Regions from separate parts of the Homo sapiens genome. Here region 2 is linked to region 1. Evidence: promoter capture Hi-C in human tissues and cell types (Jung and others, 2019). All regions are on one chromosome and are shown on one strand. Each heading gives the region's core, a stretch centred on a gene start or on the middle of the fragment in contact. The rest is flanking DNA. Distances are from core to core; before and after follow the strand shown.

Region 1 (2,964 bases), core at 30-2,529:
GCGGGTGGATCAGTAGGTCAAGAAATCGAGACCATCTTGACCAATATGGTGAAACCCTGTCTCTACTAAAAATACAAAAATTAGCTGGGTGCGGTGGTGCGCACCTGCAGTCCCAGCTACTCGGGAGGCTGAGGCAGAATGGCTTGAACCTGGGAGGCGGAGCTTGCAGTGAGCTGAGACTGGGCTACTGCATTCCAGCATGGCAACAGAGCAAGACTCTGTCTCTAAATAAATAAATAAATAAATAAATAAATAAATATAAAAAGAGGAAACAAACCATGTAAATTTTAAGGGAGGAGACAATTTTAACATTTTACTTTATGTGGGAACGTATACATCTCTTACAACTATTAAATTCATTTTTAAAAAATAATAACTCCCGAGCCATCACTCCTTAAAGAATGTGGTAGTGGTACAAGTTTAAAGAAAGTCTTTTGAGAACACTCTATTGGAAAAGTGAGCAGACTAGGGAATAACAATTTTACCCCCAAGAATTGTTGTTAAGATTAAAAAGGAAAGCGCTGTCGCAGACGCTCAAACACGGTGCTGGCTCTGCTTCCTTCATCAGTTCCTAGGGTCATGGGACACAAATACTAAAATATTTCCACTACTGGTAACGATGCTGGCGAACGCTTTCCTAATCCAGTTCAGACCGACCTCTCATTGGAGCTTGTGTGACCCGCAGGAGTCCGTGCCCCGACTCCGCCGGGACTGAAACGCAACGGAAAGTGCAGTGCTGGATGCGCAAGGGAATGGGAGCGTCGTGGGACCTCCGGAGCCTGGGAGATCAGAGGGTGGAGTCAGGGCCCCCTAGTTTTGGACTCCATTGCCGCACTGCAGGCGACTTCTCGGACCCCACCGTTGAAGCACCAGGCCCCCCGCCCACCCAAGAGCAACCGGGAAGCACAGCACAAGCCCACAGCTCCGGACACGCGCTCCCGTGTGCCCTGCCTCCCCTGAATCCCAACCCACGAAATCTCCGCCCCCTCGCCACGCCCACATCCCCGTCTACCGTCGGGGAGGGGCGACGAGGCGAAAGCCTTGTGGACCAGGCCGGGATTGGTGGGCGGGACGGAAATGGAGCTGGGAGAGGTGACGTCACCTTCCGCACCTGGCTCAGGGCGGAAATGGGGCGGGGAGAGAGTGACACCACCCCTCTGCCTGTGGCTGGATTGGTGGGCGTGGCGGGGGCGTGGCGATGCCTGCCCTCCGGACAAGGCGGGGTTGGTGGCCAGGGCGACCGCGGGGCGGGCCAGCGCCGGGGGTCGTGGCCGGGACACGTGGTACGGAACCGGCGCCGCGCTTGCTGCTGGTAACAGGGCCTTGCCTAGTGGGCCTTCCTTCCCAGGTGGGTCTTCCTGATGGACCTTCCTTCCCGGGTGGGCGCCCTGAGCTGGGAACGGGCTGGGCGGGGAGGACCCGGGTCAGCGGCGAGAGTCACGCCTCATTCGTGGGGGAGCGTGGGGCGCCCGGCCGCAGCCAGGCGGGAACAATGGTGTCCGGGCTGTTCCCGAGCGCGCGGTCGGGGGCGGAGGCCCGTGACGGCCATGGCCCCGGGGCCTCTCGCACCTCCGGGCCACTCGTGTCCCAGCAGCGCCGAGCGCGTCCCCGGTACGCAGGGACAAGCTGGGCGGCGCACTTGGCCTGAGCCTGCGTGGCCCTCCCTGGTGGAGTCGAGTGGAACGACCCGGGTTGGAGATGGGGTTGCGGGGAGCCGAGCGCTGGTCAGGCCACACCCCTCCCCAGGGGCCTGCTGAGAACTCCAGCCTTTCTCCAACGGATCCCTTTCCCGGAGACCTGGGGTGGGGAGTGTGGCGGGACAGAAGCCTCCCAGGTTCAAAGGGCCCTGGACAGCGTCCCTAGCTCCCGCCAGCATTTGAGGCAGCGTTTAAGGCTATAGGAGGAAGCGTCTGAGGGGAGACAAAATTCCCATGCCAGCTTGATGGTCTGGGGCAGGTGTCTTATTCAATTGGCTTCAGTTTCCTCATCTGTGAAATAGAGACAATATTTGGTCCTCACAGACAGGGCCACCAAACCAAACTCCCCACCGCCTGCCAAGGTCAGATTCCGTAGATCATCCAAGCATAGACTGCAGGAAGAGGCGGAGAACCCGGGGCCTGCTACCAATACCTTCCTTGTCCCTAATGTTTGCAGGCAGGAGTGGAGGAAGAGAAGTCCACATTATGCTTAGGGATCAAGTTCTAGCTTGGGCAGATTGGAGATTCTTTTATTGGTTCTTAATCAGACATGAAGGTGTGATTCAGTTATTTGTGTTATATATGCCTTCAATTATCAAGGGACAGGGACTGAGATTCTCAGAACTAGAAGACTCATTTGTGTGTACTACTGACGGTTCCAGGTGCCACAGCAATTTCTCCTGCCCTCCACTAGTCTCAACATTTAAATCATGTTACTCCCTTGCCAGGCATGGTGGCTCATGTGTGTAACCTCGGCACTTTGGGAGACCAAGGCGGACAGATCGCTTGAGTCCAGGAGTTCGAGACCAGCCTGAGTAACACGAGCAAACCCCGTCTCTACAAAAAATACAAAAATTAGCTGGGTGTGGTGGTGCGCACCTGCAGTCCCAGCTACTTGGGAAGCTGAGGCAGGAGGATCATTTGAGCCTGGGAGACAGAGGTTGCAGTGAGCCAAAATCACAGCAATGCACTCCTGCCTGGGTGACAGAATGACAACCTGTCTCTAAATAAATAAATAAAGTTACTCCGTATGAACTTTAGATTTTTAGAGGGGAGTGAGGTGTCATTTAAAAGGATAATGCTTTTGCTTAAATCAGCATACTGCTTTTACCTTAATTAGTGGTGTTCTCCAGAGCATATAAAAATGGTTCCATTTAATGGCTTTGTAACGGGGGAGGTGGGGGGAAGTGAAACAGGAGTAACCCAGAAGTGTGAATGGGAGGAGAAACTGGAACCTGGCCTAGCCTGGTTTGACTGGATGAGTGAT
Region 2 (3,141 bases), core at 492-2,991, 1.9 Mb after region 1:
CCAAAACACAGTAAAAGCACCAAGGACAAGCACCGGTGCCACCGCCGGGCTGGAAGAATCACCCACAAGAGCGGATGCCCTCACAGCTGGGCTCCTGAGGCCCAGGGCCCGGACCCTCTCACCATCTTCTAGCTTGTCTACGATCGAGGCAAAAGAGTGAGATGCCTAAAGGGGTGTGCTGTGAGCATCCACAGCCTACGGGAAGCCCTGTTATTTATCCTCCATCTCTGCCTTCCAAGGCTCCAGGCATCCTTTCCACCCTTACCACCTACCAAAGGAAGGTGTTCAGAAAGAAATGGCTGCTTGACTATCTGGTTTTCATAACCTCCTCTACAGTCTTCAAGTATGTGTATATAACATGGAAGAGGCTTAAACAGTGCGTGTGCTGAAAAAGACTGCCACTAGTGTCACCACGAAAGGAAACTACTTTATTTCTCTTCAAGCTTCAGGTGTGTGCTGATCAATTAAACTGACTTTAATTATTTATTCCTGATTCTAACCTATGGTGAATTTAATCAATTTCAGCAGATTTACCTGGCCCTCGTGCCTGTTGAATTGTTTTGCTGAGATAGACGGTATATCACAATTTCTCAGAATTTTCCAGTATAGAATATTCAAATATTAATATGACAAAGTAAGGGCAGTTGTTCTACAAAAACCAACCATGTCTGTCTACCAACCGGAGGGCTTTTGAACAGAATGCAGCAAATGAGGTAACTATGCCTATCTTGACAACACTTTTCTCAAACTCACGGTTTTCCTGCATCCTCTCTTTAATGAATAATTAACGACAAGTCTCTTAAACCAAACAAAACAAAGAGAAGCACGCTGGCAGGTTCCGACAAAGCCACAAGACACCAAGTAAAGAAAACATGCCATCAAACTGAGTTCATAAGCAACATCTACCAACTGGCTTATCAATGACAGCCATCTGTCTACACGGGCGTAAGTATGTGTGTAGATGTGTTCACGTGTGTGCTCACCACAGAAAGGCTCTCCAAGTATGTGAGTTTCCTCCAGTTATTAAGGAAAATTGCTTATTTTTAGACTAAATGACAAGAGGTCACACTGAATGTGTGCTCTGTGGTGTATGTCCTAACTTGATTTCCACAGCAAGTATACAAAATAAGCACCATTATCATTATTTTACAGATAAGGGAACTTAGGTTACATTATATGTCTATGGTAGAGGATCAAAGTTAAAGCCTCTACTCAATAACCCAATAGATTATATTATCTGGGTCTCTCAGAGTAGAACTGGCTGACCTTCAATGAATTTAAATGTTGACAGCTATTAGATACAGTCTCTGCCAGGATCTCTCCTCTCCACTATAAACCCGTATCTTCGCCTGCCTATTAGACATTCCTACCTGGGTTTCCACAAAGCTCTCAAACTTACCTTGAATTCTATCTGGAAATGTTTTATCCTGCTCCTCCTTCCAGCCTCAGGGGAATGGGTCATCCCTGGGGCCAGCTGCCTGAAGCCAGACCTGGGGTCAACACCATTCCCTCCTGTCCCTCACTTTCCAAGCCCAATCCCTCTGTTCTAGTCCCTCAAATCTACCCGCTCTCTCCGGCCCCATGCCAGCTCAGGCCACCTTATCTCTCGCTGGGATCAAGCTAAGCGCCTCCAAAGACCTGCTTCTGCTGCCGGGAACCACTAAGCCCATTCTCAGTAGCGTGTGACCTGCTCATTCTTCTCAAGCTACAACTCTGACGGTGTCAGCCCTGCCTAGGGCTCTCTATCCCCTGTGGGAAGAAATTCAGAGTCTCAACAAGGAGACCTGGTGCTCTCTAGACCCCAGGCCCGAGCCTCTGCCCACCCACTCTGGCTCTCCCTCCGTGAGCTGACCCCCACCCAGTTCCTCCAGTGGAATGTGTTCCTCCACTCCGGGCCTTCCACGTGCTGAGCTCTTTAGGGACGCCCATCCCTCCGCCCCTCCATAGTCTTCCAAGCGCCTCCAGCCTCAATGACAGGGCCCTTCCCATGTCACAGCGCTGCCTTGCTCTGCCCTACTTCCTGTCTAAGCCACCCATGGACCTTTTGAACCAGAGAAGCAGGAAAAATGGTTATCTTGTCGCCCCAGTATCCTGCACAGGCCTGGCACGCAGTGGGTGGTCAATAAATATTGTTAGTAAGTGAATAAATTATTATAAAATGGAATTTCCAAATACTGTTTCAATTACATAATGTAGCATCTATTATGTATATCTATAAAAGTCCATTGACTTTAAGTGTCACATCAAATAATTTCTGCATGAATACACGGTGTTGCATGATCAAAAAAAACCACAGCCATGATCCCTAGCATCTAAAGCCCACAGGAAAAGAATCCGATTTAAATATTAATGAATGTTAGCAAAGCACGCTAAACATGAAAAAGAACATGGCTGGTAAGTATGAATCACATTCTAGACATACATAACTACAGAATGTTTTCTATAATCTATAAGGTATCTTAAATTTAACACAGCTATTGTGGTTTCTGTAAACAATGAGAATTATAGGATAAGAACAAGGAACCCTAGGATTTAAACCTCTACCTATTACTGATGTGTTTTGCAATTATCCTACCCAACAAATCTCTATAGGAATGCTTATAGTTCCAAAGTACGTTAAGGAAAATGGAATTTCCTTAGAGAACTCTGCAGAGCATTCAGTGATAAATCACCAAAAGCTACTTTAAATGTAATGAAAGACAAAAAGTACCATCAGAGGCCATGAGCTCAGATATGGAATTTAACAAACCAACTGCCACAGCAGGAGACGCATACAAATCTAGCTCAGTTTTAATGCCAGGCCTGAACTGCCACTGTCCTATGAATGAAAGGAAAGCTCACCCACCGAGATCTTCACACCAACAGTTAATACACAGGCTAAGTCTGAAAGCCACATTCACTCAGACCACAATATTGAGTTACTGTAAACTTGAAACTAAGAGGATAGTTGGTATGAAGTATAAAATAACAATATTTTAGTCTAGAGAGACAAAGAGAACAATATAAGTACATCTTTTCTATATCAGAATCAAGAATGAGTAACAATTATTATATTGTTACTCATATAATAAAATTATTATAAACAACTGGTTATGCTGGGGCATAACCAATAAGTAACACAGACATTATTTAAAATAGTCT

Evidence for each region. The method cuts DNA at HindIII sites, captures the fragments that hold promoters and counts their contacts. A contact is called where the count stands out against the background at its distance.
Region 2: a fragment that was not itself captured here is called in contact with the fragment with the promoter of CNDP2 in region 1 in 1 of the 25 tissues and cell types used here (dorsolateral prefrontal cortex).

What each region holds. Positions count from the first base shown.
Region 1 is chr18:74,495,084-74,498,047 of GRCh38, forward strand. It overlaps CNDP2 (carnosine dipeptidase 2), which reads left to right and starts at 1,280. Exons shown (of 12, transcript NM_018235.3): 1 at 1,280-1,348. RefSeq lists enhancers at 566-835, 1,393-1,905, 2,289-2,388 and silencers at 1,106-1,615, 1,746-1,795. The HindIII fragment of the contact is 9,626 bases long and covers 1-2,964 here.
Region 2 is chr18:76,365,687-76,368,827 of GRCh38, forward strand. The region is part of intron 6 of ZNF516 (zinc finger protein 516); the gene reads right to left. Among named protein-coding and RNA genes, the nearest start is that of ZNF516-AS1, 120 kb to the right of the region's middle. The HindIII fragment of the contact is 5,402 bases long and covers 1-3,141 here.